Regions from separate parts of the Homo sapiens genome. Here all the other regions are linked to region 4. Evidence: promoter capture Hi-C in 16 types of primary human blood cells and fetal thymus (Javierre and others, 2016). All regions are on one chromosome and are shown on one strand. Each heading gives the region's core, a stretch centred on a gene start or on the middle of the fragment in contact. The rest is flanking DNA. Distances are from core to core; before and after follow the strand shown.

Region 1 (3,721 bases), core at 645-3,144, 580 kb after region 4:
TCTGCAATGCAGTGCAAAGGGAGTAGCCTCTGATCCTTTTGTTACTTGGGTGTGGAGAGGTGGGGTTTTCCTTTTCATTCAATCCTAGAAACTCAGCACAAATCAGCTTTAGGTTCCCTGTCTCCAGACCCTATTCTCCTGCCTCATTTTCCCCTGAGAGATGTGATCCCCATAAATCTTTCTGGGAGGCAGAGGGACCCATGGTCTTTCTTCCATAACTACTTCATGCTGACTTGGGGCACAGTCCCTACCTACTGGGGATTACAGAACTCTCACCCTGCTCTGTCTAGTGGAGACAAGGTTACTTCTTGGTGGCCGGGGTTGACATCATTATCTGAAACTGACTGGTGGCCCTGCTGCATTATCATAATGGTCTCTAGGCAAGAAGAAATAAATCTGGTTAAAAGATTTAACAAACATGATCCAAAAGCCAAGGCAAGTATAATAATTAATAGTGGACTGGCCAGAGGAAGGAGATGTGAGCCCCAAATTAGCATTTTGACTAGGCGCCCCATGACTCAGACAGCTGTTGTCATATCTTATGGTACCAATCGGCTAGTTTTTGGGTGGCATCCCTTACTAATCCTGTTTGGTTGACATAAAAACAGCATTCTTCCTCTAGGAAAAAGACATAAGCCACCTTCTTCAGCATTTAGGAGATCCAGTCCCCTTCTATTTTACAAAGCCACCACTGCCAAAGACTCTATCTGATTTTGTAAGGTGATGATACTTTTGGGCAATGTCACCTAAGCTTTCCATAAAATCCTTGGACAAGCATTGGTAATAGGATAGGGAAACTGCAAGGCTGCTAACTCTCATTCCTACTCCTGCTGTTATTCCTAGCTCTACCGAAAGTGGTATCAGTTGGATGGCTCATTTGTGTCTGGTGGTTGCAGTTAAAAGTATAATGAAGGATTGGTTGTTGGGAGCTATATTAATTTCGGGGGCTAAATAAACAACTGTATAGGTTCCAGTCCAATTGGCTGGTAAAACATAAGTAGGAACTGGTCCCACACGGGAAAAAGAGTCCTTGTTTTTCAAGACAAAATTGTTTTCTATGGTGAACATGTGGGTTAGCTTGTTGTTTTCACTTTCCCAAGTTATTAAAGTCCCTGGTAAGGTGGCCAAGGGAAAATGTGAACACAGCTAGTGGGCCTACCTTAACGGTATTTAGACTATATATTTAAAGTGTCCTTGACTAGGGATGGTTTCCATAAAAACTGTACAGGTTTTCTAAATGATGCAGCTTGGGTAACTGCATAGCTTACATGATCATGTGAGGGTTTAATCTGTATGGTGTAGTTACATTGGTGACTTTAGATGTCCCAGGGCGGGACCAAAATTTTGGCTTCTCTCAATACAAAGTGTTGCCTGGAATTTTAGTGCTTTGCGCACTGATATGTGCATTGAGATTGGGCCCCAAATGGGTTTCTGAGGGGATGCAACCCCAGAAAGTTTGCTCTGATAGGACTGGGGAAGGTTTACTGCTCATTCTGACATTGTAACCCTTGTCATTTCCATAATTTTAAGGCTATATAAGTCAGCCAGGTTCATTAATTTGAAAGGAGTTTCTCCCTTGTAGTTAGGATGTTAAGTTATTTTTTCAAGGGCCCAAGATTGGGCTGGGATCAGGATTGGTAGTCTGTTTGGATGATGATGGAGATAAACAAAGCCAACAGTGCCTTGCCAAAGCTGGACTGGTGGTATTTAACAGTCTTTGTGTTAAAGTTTTTAATAAATACCCAGAATCCATTAATTACCAGAGGGGTAAAGCGAAACTCTTTTGTAAAATAAAGCTGATTATCAGTATGCATGGTCTTAGTATACACAGGCTGTGGGTGACCATTATGGTATAAAAAAAAAATACTTATTTGTTATTTTGTTCTATAGATAAAAATTAATTAAAACACTTTAAAAGAAGTGATTCAATCCATTTGGAAGAAAGCAATTAAATTGTAAAAATATAAAAATGGCTACTATTATATCCAGCTTACAGTAAATATACAAGAAGGACACCAAGGAAAGTTGATAGGAATTTACTTATCTTTTGGCTGCCTTTTAAACAGGTACTTCAGGTCTTCTACAGGTTCACAGGTTTAGTGGCTGATGGGATCTTCAGGTTCCAGGTCTGGGGGCTTCAGTTATTGCAGGCTGGACCCTGGAAAGACATATCCAACTAACTATTCCCAGTACTTTGACTGGAGAAGGCATGGCCAGTACCACTGAAAATAGTCCCTTCCATTTGGGTTGTAATTGTTCAGCAGGTGATCCCTCCTTCCATGTTTTAACAAGTACTTTATCTCCTGGCCTGATTTTGGGTTGCTGGTTAGTTCCTGGTGTGGGGAGTCTTTGAGTTCTAAACTTTTGTAAAGCCTGCTGAAATTGTCCCAGGTTAATTACGCATGTTACTAAACTGGCTGTTTCTGGATCAGTAATTAGATCATTATTTAAAAATGGCCAGCCAGGAGCGGTGGTTCATGCCTGTAATCCCAGCATTTTGGGAGGTTGAGGCAGGCGAATCACCTGAGGTCAGGAGGTCAAGACCAGCCTGGCCAACATGATGAAACCCTGTCTCTACTAAAAATACAAAAACTAGTCAGGCATGGTGGCACATGCCTGTAATCCCAGCTACTCAGGAGGCTGAGGCAGGAGAATTGCTTGAACCAGGGAGGCAGAGGTTGCAGTGAGCCAAGACTGTGCCATTGCACTCCAGCCTGGGTGACAAGAGCAAAACTCCATCTCAAAAAAAAATGGCCTTCTGTATAACATTTCATATGAGCTCATATTAATTTTTGCTCTAGGAGAATTAAGGGTTCTTAAGAGGGCTACAGGCAATAAGCTGACCCAAATTTCTGATGTTTTCTAACATAGCTTAGCTAACACCCATTTTAAGAGCTTGATTAGCCCTTTCTACTTTCCCATGTAAATAATTTTTGATTCTGAGAGCCTTAGCAGCCCCTTGAGTTCTAAAAGATGGGTCTTTATCACTTTAGAGGCTTTGGGGTAACCCAAACTAGGGGATTTATTTCCTTTAAAAGAAGCTTAGCAACTTCATGAGCCTTCTTTGTTCTCATAGAGCAAGCTTCAACCCAGCCAGTAAAAGTATCTATTACTACTACCAAAAACTTGTATACTTTGCACACTGGCATATGGGTGAAGTCTAATTGCCAGTCTTCCCCTTTAACTTTAGCCAATATGTTCACACACAGAATCTCTTTTACAATTAATTTTTCATAAGCCTTCCACAACTTGTTCAAACCTTTTAGATTATTCCTATCTCACTTAAAACCATCCTTTCACCCTCTAAACTTAGGCAAGAAATCCACATTCCCATGCTTTTTACCAAAGGTACATTATCCTTTTCTTACATGAATTCTTTTCATAACTTACCCAGACCATCTACAAAATGCTTGGACTTTCTGAGTTTTCCTAAACATCTTTCTTTTTAAACAACCAGTCATTTTACGTTAGGACAAGAATTTATCGTACAAGATCTTTTCTCCTACAAAGCCACCATCTCTACAATCTTCCCTCACAAAAACATATCTTCATATATATAACTTTCTTCACATCTCTCCCCTACTTACTGGTTCCTTACTACCTTGTTTCATAAATAACTCTTTTTTTTAAAGTCCATAATTTGAATTAACTTTCAGATAACCTCCAAACTACACAAAATAATTCTTTCTCACCAATAACACATTTTTTGGCATATTTTGTA
Region 2 (3,652 bases), core at 693-3,192, 620 kb after region 4:
GTAGCAAATATAATTGCTCTTTATTGAGTAGTTATTATGTACCAGGTCCTGCCTGTGCTAAATACTTTACATGTTTTGTTTAATCTTCATCATATTCCTGCATAGCAAGGTAGAAGCTGTTCTCCCCTGTTCTTAGAGAGGTTAGGTAAGAACTTAATCTTTAGTCACACAACCCATAAGTGGTGTAGAGTTGGGAGATACGCCAAGGTCTTTCTGAACTCGAAGCTTCAGTTATTATGGCCATTAATTGATTTACTGAATTATTTTGTTTCTGTTAGGAAACTTTTAAGTTTTAAATACTGCTTACTATTAGATGGTTTGTCATAGTCACTTGAAATTCTTAAATTGGAGGGCATACATCATTTTACAGGATTTGGCACTGATGATCAATGTATAGAATGTGCAATACACTGGAAAATGCTGAGGTGAATAAGATACAGCTTCTGTCTTCTAGGCGCTTAATATCTAATGGGAAAGGAAAGTTCAATGCACATTTAATTACTCCATTGAGGAGAGGGTGGTGGCTATTAATAGTATATTTGCTTGACTGGATCTTTAAAATACAGAGAAATGCAGAAATGCACCTTAAATATGTTCAGAGTAGTAAAATTCAGCTTTGAAAACTTATTTAGGTAATTTCAGATTCTTGCCAACCAATAACTATTATAATTGAATAAGAGGTATTTTGCTTTATCTTTCACTTTGAAACAGTGACTATATGAGTTTTAGGTCCCAGAAGGATATTTTTTTCTCTCTTGATAAATGGAAAGTGAATAAATTGGTTATGGTTTTAATGTGGGTGTCCTGAAGGTTAGGTTAATTGTGATGTTCCTGAATTTTGTGTGATTGTAGCAGTGGATGGCTAGGGTTATATATAATACTTTATATCTTATGCCTTGTTTTCTCTGTCTTTTACACTAATTTCTTTATATGTCTTTTAGCTTGATAACTATGGACAGCAAGAACTTGCGGATCTTTTTGTGAACTATAATGTAAAATCTCCCATTACTGGAAATGATCTATCCCCTCCAGTGTCTTTTAACTTAATGTTCAAGACTTTCATTGGGCCTGGAGGAAACATGCCTGGGTATGTATCACTTATTGTTTACCTGTTTATGTAATGAAGTTTTTAAAATTGCTTATATTAAAAGGTAAATATCAATGTTATGAAGGAAAAATTTTTAAAAAGTGATATACAGAAGTACAGATGAATGTATTATGGAGAAATAATGGCAGAAATAAATCTTTTAAAAAATTCTTTCTGAATATAATTTCTTTTTTGGCATATATGTATTTTTTTGGCATAAAATAAAGTCTCTGATCACTATATCTTCTAGTTATAGCTGCATAGGGTAGAAGGGACAGTTGAAGAATGGTTTTAAAAGCCGTTGAACTTATTGCTGAAGGATATTTTAGAAACCATTTAGTTTAGCATGCTACTGTCCAACGGAACTTTCTGCAGTGATGGAAATGTTCTGTAATGTGTGTTGTCCAGTATGATTAGCTACCAGCCACATTTGGCTCTTGAGCACTCATAATGGGTCCAGTTCTTCTGAGGCACTGAATTTTAAAATTTATTTCATCTTAATTGAAATTTAAATAGACATCTGCCTGGTGTCCTACCATATTGGACAGCATAGGTATAGCCTGTTGATTTGAAAGATGTGGTTTTCATGGATAAAGAATATCTGGTTAGTTTACAGTATGATTCAGAATTGGAATCTTTATCTTCTGATTCCTTGTCCACTGTTTAACAGACTTAGCCAGTGTTCCATTTCATAGCTTTAGATATTTTTCTATGATAGGGTAAGAGAGTAAGTTTTTCCTACATGAGCTAGATAGATCGTGTTTCCCAGAGTAGGGACTGAAGAATAAGAAAAATTAATTGTGACAAAATGTGTTGCAGTTAATTATTCTAATGAGACATCAGGTTGATTTGGAATATTTCATGGAAAGAGGCCAGTGGCAAGCCTTTCATTTTGGCCATATGTACAGAGTCATAAAATGAGACATAACCTGTGACCCAGACATTCCATTTCTGGGAATTGATCTAAGGAAATAATTCAGAAGGAAAGGAAATTATACTTAGAAGAAGTATATAAATTGAAAGTAGAAATAACCTATTCAGTAATTTGAGAGTGGTTAAACAAATTATGGTAAAGTGGATTAGTTTGGGATAATATTCTGTCACTATTAAATGTGAGAAATTTGTGCCATTATTTAGAAAATGGGAAGTATAAAATAGGTAATACATGATTTTATACATACTAACTGTAAATATATGTATAAACTTTACTTACATTTGGATGAAATCTGGAAAGGGCCATAAAAATCAAAAGAGTTGGTCTGTTAAGTAAGAAGAGGGTACAATTTTAGGGTTTTTAGCCCTTGGTTTTAAAGTTATTTTAGTAAAATACTTATTCTGAAGTAGGCCATTGGGAGCGTTTCCTTAGTGGATGTTTTGCACAGAATATCTTCTAGGAAATTGAGAGGGCAGTGGTTATAGTAGTGTATTTGCTTGACTATATCTTTAAAATACAGAGAAATGCGGAAGCCTCTGGTTGAAAATATAAAATACTGCAGATAATAAAATGATTTGAAAAACATTGAAAATTACCTGGCTTGGTGAGGTGATAGTGATAAGTGAGTGCTGATGTTAAATGTGAGCCTATACTGATTTCTTTTTAGCCCCTCAGTTAAGTTTTAATATGTGGGTTAACAGGGCTAAACATAGGCATGGGTATTATTTTCCAAAGGACCTAAGATTGTCATCTGCCTCCATGTACATGATGACTTAGAAGACATCAGGGGTTTAAGGGGCACTATGGGAGAGGTGGTGTTTTTTGTTTGTTTGTTTTGAGATGGAGTTTCGCTCTTGTTGCCCAGGCTGGAGTGCAATGGCGTGATCTCGGCTCACTGCAACCTCTGCCTCCCAGGTTCAAGCGATTCTCTTGCCTCAGCCTCCTGAGTAGCTGGGATTACAGGCATGTGCCACCACGCCTGGCTAATTTTGTGTTTTTAGTAGAGACAGGGTTTCTCCATGTTGGTCAGGCTGATCTCGAACTCCCAACCTCAGGTGATCCGCCCACTTCAGCCTCCCAAAGTGCTGGGATTACAGGTGTGAGCGACTGCGCGCGGCCTGAGGTGGTGTTTTTAAATTTATTTTTATTTCTGCTTTTTGAGAAGTGGGGTTTTGACTCACTGGTGTAATTAAATGAAATGGCATTGCCAAAGTAGTACTGCCACACTAATTACTTAATACATTTTCTAATACGTGCTATGAAAATGTTTGCTACCGAGGAAAATATTTCTAAAACTTCATTTTAGGGCCTGTTCAACTTTGTTGTGAAAATGGTATATTTAGGACTTTTAGGATTTGTATCTAGAATTTCAGGATTGTTGGAAAACATAATTTCTTTCTTTGTAACAGACTGACTTACTTAAATTTATAGGTACTTGAGACCAGAAACTGCACAGGGGATTTTCTTGAATTTCAAACGACTTTTGGAGTTCAACCAAGGAAAGTTGCCTTTTGCTGCTGCCCAGATTGGAAATTCTTTTAGAAATGAGATCTCCCCTCGATCTGGACTGATCAGAGTCAGGTACTGCTCAGGTTACTCTTACAAATTAGTGAATGACCTTGGCATTGCAT
Region 3 (3,347 bases), core at 347-2,846, 520 kb after region 4:
ACCATATACCTGTAACTGAATAATCCCTTGTTTAATATCTCTTCCCCTTGCCCTGACTGTAAGCATTTGGACTCCCTTCCTACAGTTGGGAAATTCCCTACCTTACGAGTTTGGGAATAGGGAGTATCAGAGCCTGACTCCCATTTTTGAGGCTTCAAAGGCCAGAAGCTGGTTCTCTCAGTTTTGCTTAAAATCACGGCATGGGTACGTGGCCAAAACTTAGCCAATCGGGACATTCTGGGGCTTTCAATTAGAAGCTAGTGCCCAAGACAGCAGGGACTCCAGAGAGGCTGACACATTTGGGTTTCAGGAACTGCAGGGATGTACAGAGGCAGGCAGTGTCCAGGGCAGGGGGTGGTGGACAATACAGCATCCACGTTTACCAAGTTCAGCAGTGGCGTGGAAGAGGCTCCGTGGGCTGGTTCTGTTGTGTGATGCCCACTGTATTACAGTTGCTGTGCCTCCCTTTATGCTTGTCCGTTTTGTCAGCTTTGTACTCCTGCCTTCCTGGTCATTCTGTGAGCTCTCCAATAGCCTTTCAACACATTCTTTTTTTTTTTTTTTTTTTTTTTTTTGCTTAAATCAGCCAGTTTCTGTTGCTTGCAACTAAGAACTCACGATGTTAGCAGAGATCATGTTTGTCTCATTCGACGCTGTCAAAAAGGTTTTGAACATAATCTATTGCACCTCTGTCCTACAGACTGAGAGTTCCTCGAAACAGCCACTTTACTCAATCATGTTTATACCCTTAGTGTTAAGTGCCGGAAGAATATGTACTAAATGAATGAATGGACTGGGCTGAAGAGCAATGATTTACCAACACTGGTTATAGTTCATGCAGCCCCTTGACCTAACTGAACACAGCATTATTACAAATAAGACATGGTCCCAGCTTTCAGGACCTCTTAGATGAGGAGCGAAAGGCAGGTAAACGGATTTTCACAATGCCAGGTGAGAAGTGCTGTAACAAAGGTTATGTACAGAACAGAAGGCAACCAATTCCCAGACACGGGTCAGAGAAGACTCTCCAGAAGTACCAACTGTATGCAATCTGTTAAGTTAGTGGACGAGAGGCCAAATCGGTGCAGACCGAGCAGCCGGTGCAAAGGCCAGGAGGGGGAAAGCTCCAGGCAGCCCGAGAGGGCACCGTGGCCCGGGCAGGGCCGGGCAGTGGGCGCAGCGGAGGAGGTGGACCCGCCCAGGAGGCGGAAGCCGCGTCCTAGTACCCTCATCAAGAAGAACTGCATTCCTGGCCCGATCGGCCACGTGTGCCCCCGAGGAAGCGCCTTCTGGGCATCCCGGCCCCGGCGTGGGTAGCGCGGGAGGGGGCACTCACCTGCAGGCGGGCCACACAGAAGAACGCCGCCGAGGGGTTTCGGAGGTGGATCCTCTCTGTCAGCAGGTTGCTGCCGTAGGCAAAGTACAGAAAACTCTCCTCATCTGGACCCGTGACGTCCTTGCAGCCCGAGTTGGCCATATCCCACTACGCCCCTGCACTGGAGCCTGAAGCAGAGTGTAAGGAACGGCCAGAGAGCGCAACACTGGGGCCCACTACCCCGGCGCAGTGACCGCCGCGCGGCAGCCTCAGGGTTAGGGGACTGGCGGGAAGCGTGGGCCGGTCGAGTCAGGAGCGAGCGCTCTCCTGATTGGCTGCCGGTCCCCACCGACCTGAGTCGCCCCCTTTGATTGGCCATCCCCACGGCCTTCCCTCCGCCTTCCGCCGAGACTCAGAAATAGTCTGTCCTGAAGCAATCCGGCGCTGGCTCCTCATTGGACACGACCTACTGATGTCCCGCCCCTCCTTGCTCAAGGCTTCCTCTGATTGAGGGGTGGACAGGCACTCCTCACAGGCGGGTCGGGTCCCATGGACACTGGCTGAAGGTCGTGGCGCGTGACTGGTTTCTTCGCTCTGGGGTGCTTGTGTGTGGTTCTTTGGTACTTTCTGTGCCTTAGGAAGTTCTGGTCAGATCTGAGGCGAAACAGCGGCCCAGGCGACTCCATCAACGGCTCCCTCATCCGGCAGCTCGCCGGGTCCTGCCTTCCTGGCCTAGAGGAGTCGGGCAGGACGGGTCCGTTCACCCTTTCTGCTGGTTCCGGCACCCCCAGCACTGGTCATCAATCTGACCCCTTTCCACGGACCCGTCGCCTGCTGGAGCGGCCCCTCTGAATGCTTGGGACTCCCTTCCCTGTTACATGGAAGTTACATGCCTGGGCTTAAATCCCGACGCTGCCATTTACTAGCCAAGTAACTTTGGGCACCTCTGGTCTCCGTTTCCTCTTTTTAAAAATCGGGATCATAATATAAGTTAGGGTCACAGTAGAAACCCCTATATTGTGTTTTGGTTACCCCCTCCCACACACACACACATCCTGGGTGTATTTTTTAAAACCTATATTGTTAACTTTTGAATGAACATAAGGGCATAGGAACATTGTCTATCCTTGACACCCAGCTATTAATCTCTAAATACCACCCCCCACTAAAAGGTACCAAGTGATCCTTCGAGAAATGACTGATGCCAGGTCAGGAGCTAGGAGTGAATGAGGACAACTTGGAACATCTTGTGTCAGAAGCTCAGGACGCCTCTCAAGACGAACGAGGTCCTTCTAAAAGGACATGGGAACCAGCCTGAAGTTGCCCACTGGCCAAAATTAGAACAATTTGAGAATCAAAAATAACAATGACTGCAAACTGAAAAATGATTGGAAACTTTAAACATAAAAAAGCCATTCCCCCCAAAGAGTAATCCAAATTAAAAAAAAAACTATAACTTCATTTGCCACACTATTGGTGGTGACTATTACACCAACTTTACTCTGCAAAGTGATAATTTAAGAAAACAAACAGGTATTCCGCCTTTCTAGTAGCAGCTGTATTTCGGGGTAACTGAAATACAGCTGATGACGAGCATCAGTTGATGAGGAAACAGTTCTCTTTACAAAAGTATGCCAACTAAGTCATCCTAAATGAATAATGGAATTTTATAATTGATTCATGCCAGGATCATCAGTGATATCATTTGGTGAAAAGGTGATAGGGAACAGGATATTCACTTGATGCCAAATTACTCCCTGAGGATTACTGCTGGTTACAATTTATTTATTTTATTTTTATTTTTTTGAGACAGAGTCTCACTCCGTCGCCCAGGCTGAAGTGCAGTGGTGTGATGTCGGCTCACTGCAAGCTCCGCCTCCCGGGTTCACACCATTCTCCTGCCTCAGCTTCCTGAGTAGCTGGGACTACAGGCACCCGCCACCATGCCTGGCTAATTTTTTGTATTTTTAGTAGAGACGGGGTTTCACCATGTTGGCCAGGATGGTCTTGATCTCCTGACCTCGTGATCTGC
Region 4 (3,188 bases), core at 472-2,971:
AAGAATTTCCCATTTCCTCATGCCTGGGTGCTTCCTCGTGTCGCTAAATCAGTTCTTCCAATGAAACTTGATCTAAGAACCTGGTATTTGTTATGTGCACTGCTCTTGGATGATGTTTACAATGTGCACACATCTCTTTTAAGAGCTTGTAGGTATCAAACGACCTCCAGGTTGTGCATCAAAAAGACATCAGCAGCCACAGAGTCAACTTTAGTTGAGCCTGGAGAAAATCATACAAAACCGTAGAGTTTTAACTAGGTTTTGTATCATCTTTTGATAAGTTAGGAAAAATAATTACAGCTCTCCAAACTTCCCACTTAACAACTCCCAGGACCCTGCAGCACCCTAAAATCTAGCCAGCTCCAAGAATCACTCTCTACTCCATACCCGGATGAGCCTTGACTCACACTAATTCCCTCCCTGAGGCTTAAGTCAGGGGGCAGCTGATGGTTGTGGTCTGTGCTGCTTCCGCCTGGCCTATTTTTCATGCTGCCATTTTGAATTAGCATAGGTTTCCTCCGCAACTGATGCATCTTCTAACCAGGCTGGGAACACAACACGCGCACACGCGCACACACACACGCACGCACCCACCCCACCCGGCTGCCGGACGCAAGCGTAAGTCAAGGACTTGCATGCTAGAATCAGACAGAAAATCCAGAAAAGCCACGTTATTTAACAGAACCCTACAAGGTCAGCTTTGAGTCAAAGCAGGTAACAGTTTCCTTCGATGTTTTCATGGACATTTTTATTCCCAAATCCGAGTTCTCGCCAATTCTCTAAAGTTCAAGCGCCCCTCCTGCTTTGCAGACCACATTTCTCTCGGCCCTCGCGAGTGAGGTCGCCAAATACTCGACGCCTCAAGAGCGAGCCGAGGAGGCAGAGGCCGACCAAGCCGGCCTCTCGGCAGCCCCGCCCGGCGCCCCGCGGAGAACGCCCGGGTGCGGCTCGAGGGAAGTTGTGTCAAGTCCCACGCGCGGCCCGCGGAGAACCCAGGGGCGGCCCGCGCGCGTCGGCCTAGCGGGGAGGGCTGCTCCGGGACACGGTGCGGCGGCCGCGGGCGAGTTGGACGCGCTGGCAGAGCCGGGCCGAAGGCGGCGGGCGTCTCCGGGCAGCCATGTTCGCGGCGCCCGCCCGCGCAGCAGGTACGGCACCTCGGGGAAGGTGCCCGGCTCGCCCCAGACCCCAGGGTGGCGAGGCCAGGGGCCCACAGGCACATCCCAGTGGGCAGCAGGTTGGCTGCCAGGAAAAGGAAACCCAGGAAGAGCAGCGCGGGGAACCCGGCTGCGGTGCGGGAGCCCGGGGCCGGCATCCCTCCACTGCACCCCCGCAGTCCCCGAGCCGAGTCACCCCGGCTTCAGGCCGAGGCCACCTCTCCTCTGACCGCCCCCAGGCTCCCAGCCCGCCCGGGCCAGCACCGGGAATCGGCCTGGGGTAACGCTACCCGCGGGTTCGGAGGGACAGCGGGAGGAGATGAAACGCAGGAGGTGGCGATGGCGGGTGGGGTGAAACCGCCGGGAAAGCAGCGCTGCAAACGCCCTGCGCTCCCAGACGCGGCTCACCTGGGGCGGCGGGCTCCGGGCTCCGCTCTCCGCTCTGCGGTGCTGAGGCTGCGGCCGCCGAGGGTGCGGGTGCTGCCGGGTCCGGATTACTGCGGCGACCTCGGGGGCTGCAGCTGCAGTGGCGGAGGCGGCCGCCGGGCGCTTCCCCCTACCCAGACTCCCGGCGCTGGGGCCCGCCGCCCCCCGCAGCAGCTGGCCCGACTCACGTGACCGCGGGCCCACCCTCCGCCTCCCCCACCCCGGCCCCCGGGGCCCCGCCGCACCCCGCGCGTCTGGCTGCACGGGCCGCGGCGCTGCTCACCGTCGAGTAGGGAGGGGGCCTGGGAGCTGGAGGAGCGGCCGAGAGGGCGTATCTCGCCGCAGAAAGTGGCCCCCTCTTTGCTAGATTTTTATTTCTTGGTTGTGGCTCTCAAAAGGGAAAACCCGGGCTTCAAGGAGCCAGGCCCAGCATCCTTTTGGCGCCTCTTCCCGACGTTTGGTTGCTACGTCCGGGCCTCGGCGCCCACACAAGATTTCCCCGGAGAGAAATGTGTCCTGTACCTTGTTGACTCGCACGTCCAAGTCGAGTCCCTGGTTTTAAAAGTGCCGTCCTGTACCATGTTGGTAAGCCAGACCCTGTCCCAGGTACTTGGACATTGTGGCCTAGAGAGGTTAAGTAACTTGCCCAAGGTCACACAGCACGTAACTAAGCCAAGATTCCATATCTGGGTTAATAAAGTTATGTACAGGGACTTGTGTGTTGTGTGTCTGTGTGTGTGTGTGTGTGTGTGTGTTGATGCCAGCGTCAACTCCATCTTTTATAAGTAAATAAGAAAAGACTATCTCAAAAGATATGAAGACGTAATTCAGAGGAAAATAAATGCAATTCTATCCTGGCACACGAAAAGATATTCAGGCTCACTTAACTGCAAATCAAATATGTGGGGTAGCATCTTCCACCAGCCAGATTAACAAAAATCAAAACATTTTGAGTCTTGCTTTGTCGCCCAGTCTGGAATGCAGTGGCAGGATCTCGGCTCACTGCAAACTCCGCCTCCTGCCTCCCGCCTCCCGCCTCCCGCCTCCCGGGTTCAAGCGATTCTCGTGCCTCAGCCTCCCAAGTGGCTGAGACTACAGACCCACGCCACCAGCCTCGCTAATTTTTTTTGATTTTTAGTAGAGATGGGGTTTCACCATGTTGCCCAGGCCGGTCTCAAACTCCTGAGCTTAGGCAATCCGCCTGCCTCTACTATCCAGCTTCCTTTAAAAAGGAGAATGATCTTTATTTGCTAATACAAAACTATTTCCAACCTATACTAACTAAAGAAAAATAAAAAGCTAGGTGCAGAACGTTGTGTGTGTTATTTGTGGGAAGAAAATATATATGTATGTCTGTACTTATTTTTGTAAATGCACAGAGTATCTTTGGAAGAGTACGTAAGAACCTGTAATAGATGCCACCAGGGAGCAGAACTGGGAGACTGGGTGCTGGGGAGAGAAGGAGACTTTTTTCCATGCCCTTTGAATGTTGAGCCTGTGCTTACAGTCTGACACATGAGTAAACGGATAGTGGGGAAGGGCTGAGGAAGTTGGTGTAGGTACTGCAGAATAGAGCATTGGTTCGTAGACTCTTGGAGCACAAAGGTA
Region 5 (3,698 bases), core at 977-3,476, 570 kb after region 4:
AAGCGATTTTCCTGCCTCAGCCTCCAGAGTAGCTGGGATCACAGGCATGTGCCACCACACCCAGCTCATTTTTGTATTTTTAGTAGAGACAGGGTTTCACCATGTTGGCCAGGCTGGCCTGTATTTTTTTTTTTTTTGTGGTAAAACATACATAACATTTATCATTTTAACCACTTTTAAGTGTACAATTCAGTGACATTAGATACATTCACAATGTTTTGCAGCCATCACCACTATCTATTTCCAAAACTTTTCTATCAGTCCAAGGTGAAACTCTATACCCATTGTAATAGTCTGTTCTCACGCTGCTATAAAGATACTACCTGAGACTGGGTAATTTATGAAGAAAAGAGGTTTGATTGATTCACAATTCTGTGTGCCTGGGGAAGCCTTGGGAAACACTCTCATGGTGGAAGGTGAAGGTAAGCAAGGCAGATCTCTTCACAAAGTGGCAGGAGAGAGAGAAAAAGAGAGACAGAAGGGAGCCACATACTTTTAAACCATCGAATCTCATGAGAACTCACTCACTATCACAAGAATCACCTCCATGATCCAATCATCTCCCACCAGGTCCCTCCCTTGACATGGGATTACAATTTGAGATGAGATTTGGGTGGGGACCCAGAGCCAAACCGTATCACCCATTAAACAATAACTTCCCATTCTCCCCTTCCTCCAGCTCCTGAAAACCTCCATTCCGCTTTCTGTCTTTATGGATTGACTATTCATGGTACATTGTATAAGTGGCACCATATAATATTTGCCCTTTTGAGTCTGGCTTATTTCATTTTGCATAATGTCTTCAAGGTTTATCCATGGGGTAGCATGTATCAGAATTTCATTCCATTTTATGGCAGAATAACATTTCATTTTGTTTATCCATTCACCTGTTTCTGTAACCTTTAGACTTCTTTTTATCCCTTAGTGGCTAACCCTCTATTATTAGTTCATGATTATTTATATTACACTTTCCCTGTTGACATTGTATAGCTCCTCTCTCCTGCCTGATACATCTGTCTTAGGAAACTGCCTTTCCATCCTTGTGACTGATGGGGCCAATCATGGAACCTCATTTCCCTCACCATATATTGTATTGGCCCATCACTCTGATAATAGTGCTGTGTGCCAGGGTAGGTACACAACCAACCAAAAGCAATCCCATGCCTTCCCCAGGATGGAAAGATGAGTACTGGGAAAAGGCTTTTCACTGGGATTGCCACACTGGGGTTCTTGAGGCCACATTCTTAGATACGTTTAGGGGCTCATCTTGTGGTGGGAGAAATTGAGGCCAACAGGCAAAGAGCAATACAGATGAAAGTGAAAAATGGAGAGGTTTCTCATATACCTGGAGAAAGTGCAGCACGAGAAGAAGGTTAAAATTTAAGGAAGTGAGAGCACAAATAAGAGAGTGAGAAAGAGCAGCTGGATGTACAGAGGACACATCAGGAGATAGCGGATCATGATACCATGAAAATCAGACTGTCAAGGCAGCATTTTCTAAAAGAAGGGATGAGTAAAAGTAGGCTGGAAAATGCCACTGGCTTGGGCACTAGGTTGTGGTTGACCTTGGTGACAGCAGAGGCAGCAGAGGCCCGGCATGGCCTGGCCTCGGTGCCTCTCCATGGCCATCTCCGGCACCCTGGAGATGCCATCCTCTGGCCATACTTGCCATTTCACGGAGCTGCCACAGCTCTCAAGCTTCTCCATTTTCCTTGACCCATCCCAGTTTGTCCTCTTGACCAACTCTGACTGATTCTCCAAAATTCAGCTCAACCTTAGGTCTCCAGGTCAGTTTCTCCCAAAGAGGAGGAGATGCTCCCCACCCAGCCCTTTGTGTGTCCCTTCCTTTGATGACGTGTGATTACACTGTTTACTGTAAATGTCTGCCTCCTCCTCCAGTCTATGAGCTCCTTAAAAACAAGGACTTAGCCTTTTGCATCTTTGTATTCCAAGCACTCAGCCCAGGGCCTGGCTCTGAAATGAGCTCAGTGCATATTAATGGATCAATGCCTGGAGGGACACACCCGCTGATCTGATCCTTTTTTAGAAAAACACGATCTGGTTGCCATGGCGCTGAAAGAGCGCTTTCTATACCTGCTGTTTTCAGGATGAGCAAATCACTTTCAGCTGACCACACTGTGGCATCTGGCCAGCAGGATCTGCAGAATCCAGCAGGATGGATGCTGAGCCAACTCTGAGATGGAAGAGACACTTTTCCTCCTTCCGAGCAGGTAAACTATTGAGTAACATCAAAGAATTTCATTTTTTCTACCCCTGGAAGATTTAAAGGGCTCCTCTTTTGTCAATATCCCCCTAGCTCTCCTGCCAGTTTTCTCTCACCTCCTGTACAGTTTTTCTGTCTCCTTATCTGCTGCTACTCTAAGACAGGGCTTTAGCCTATAGGCCAAATCTGGCCCACCACCTGTTTTTGCAAATAAAGTTTTATTGGAAGACAGCCATACCCATTTGTTTACATATTGTCTATGGCTGCTTATACTCTACAATGGTAGAGCTGTGGCAGAGATTGCATGCCTGCAAAACTGAACATATTTACTATCTGGCCCCTTGCAAAAAATAAAAAGTTTTCTGACGGTATACTAGAGAATGAGCTTCAGCTGATAAGAGATGATAAGGAAATAGTGCAACTCAAAAATGGGACAAGGGAAATAGAGAAAAACGGAATATGCCCCTAGATTGTTGTATGAGCAATGGATGGGAGATGAAGAATACTGCAGTATTTATAAACCAGATAGTAAAAGCTTAAACAAGAAAATAAGAGTAAGAGCCAAGGGAGGCTGAGGTGAGAGGATTGCTTGTGCGCTGGATCGCCTGACTGAGACCATCCTGGGCAACACAGGGAGACACCATTTCTACAAAAAATACAAAAAAATTAGCTTGTTGTGGTGGCACATGACTGTAGTCCCAGCTACTCAGGTGGCTGAGGTGGGAGGACTTACTGAGCCCAGGAGGCCAAGGCTTTGATGAGCCAGGATCATGCCATTATACTCCAGCCTGGGCAAAGAGCAAGACCCTGTCTTAAAAAAAAAATTAAGAGCATTTTAAAAAGTGTACATATAAAATAACCACTGGAATAAAATTACAAACCTTTATAAATATAATTTTTAAAGTAAAAAAAAATACATTGCATGGCAATACAATTGCCATGCAGATACATGCAATACAATTGCATAGCAGATACAATACATGATCAATATAAAGTAATGTGGCAGAATGGAGACCCAATATATCAGTTGTATCAGTAAATATGAGAGGACTCATAAAAAGAAAACATTTTTAATTTGACTCATCCTCATCAGCCTTCTTGGCTAGAACTCCCCATTCTCTCTTGAACCCATCCAGTCAGGCTCCAGTTCTCACCACCCCCACAGAAACAACTCTTATCAAGATAACCAATGGCTTTCAAAGTTTCTATTGCTCTCTTCCCAGTCCTTATTTTTCCAAGTCTCGCAGCAGCAGTTGACAAAGGTGATCCTGTTCTCCCCATCAAAAACTGTTTCTTTACTAATTTCTGGGATAGCACCTCTCCTGGTACAGGGGAAGGAAGGAAGACTTCCTTCCCAGAGACTTCTCAGAGTTTTTTACTGGATTCTTCTCCTCTTCCTGATCTAATCGAAGGTTGGATTCTCCCAGGTCTCCTTCCATGGACCTCTTCTCTTTCCTCTCTTCACTTTTTCTCA

The links. Contacts are between HindIII fragments. The CHiCAGO score rates a contact against its expected background, and 5 or more counts as called.
Region 1: a fragment that was not itself captured here is called in contact with the fragment with the promoter of SCRN1 in region 4 in 3 of 17 cell types (total B cells, naive B cells and neutrophils); the score reaches 10.1 in total B cells.
Region 2: a fragment that was not itself captured here is called in contact with the fragment with the promoter of SCRN1 in region 4 in 2 of 17 cell types (total B cells and naive B cells); the score reaches 8.7 in total B cells.
Region 3: a contact is called between the fragment with the promoter of GGCT here and the fragment with the promoter of SCRN1 in region 4, in 1 of 17 cell types (monocytes). The highest score is 6.0, in monocytes.
Region 5: a fragment that was not itself captured here is called in contact with the fragment with the promoter of SCRN1 in region 4 in 3 of 17 cell types (total B cells, neutrophils and naive B cells); the score reaches 6.6 in total B cells.

What each region holds. Positions count from the first base shown.
Region 1 is chr7:30,572,724-30,576,444 of GRCh38, forward strand. All of the region lies in intron 2 of GARS1-DT (GARS1 divergent transcript), which reads right to left. Among named protein-coding and RNA genes, the nearest start is that of GARS1-DT, 3.2 kb to the right of the region's middle. The HindIII fragment of the contact is 2,290 bases long and covers 750-3,039 here.
Region 2 is chr7:30,608,644-30,612,295 of GRCh38, forward strand. GARS1 (glycyl-tRNA synthetase 1) reads left to right here. Exons shown (of 17, transcript NM_002047.4): 7 at 942-1,087; 8 at 3,453-3,602. Among named protein-coding and RNA genes, the nearest start is that of GARS1, 16 kb to the left of the region's middle. The HindIII fragment of the contact is 3,439 bases long and covers 224-3,652 here.
Region 3 is chr7:30,503,233-30,506,579 of GRCh38, forward strand. It overlaps GGCT (gamma-glutamylcyclotransferase), which reads right to left and starts at 1,597. Exons shown (of 4, transcript NM_024051.4): 1 at 1,337-1,597. The coding sequence starts at 1,477. RefSeq lists enhancers at 805-1,684, 1,333-1,542, 1,685-2,563, 1,983-2,072 and a silencer at 1,003-1,182. The HindIII fragment of the contact is 6,754 bases long and covers 1-3,347 here.
Region 4 is chr7:29,988,080-29,991,267 of GRCh38, forward strand. It overlaps SCRN1 (secernin 1), which reads right to left and starts at 1,722. Exons shown (of 8, transcript NM_014766.5): 1 at 1,563-1,722. FKBP14-AS1 (FKBP14 antisense RNA 1) reads left to right here and starts at 577. Exons shown (of 3, transcript NR_187577.1): 1 at 577-714. RefSeq lists silencers at 949-1,068, 1,159-1,428, 1,439-1,488, 1,509-1,848. The HindIII fragment of the contact is 11,019 bases long and covers 1-3,188 here.
Region 5 is chr7:30,554,999-30,558,696 of GRCh38, forward strand. The region is part of intron 5 of GARS1-DT (GARS1 divergent transcript); the gene reads right to left. Among named protein-coding and RNA genes, the nearest start is that of GARS1-DT, 21 kb to the right of the region's middle. The HindIII fragment of the contact is 1,061 bases long and covers 1,697-2,757 here.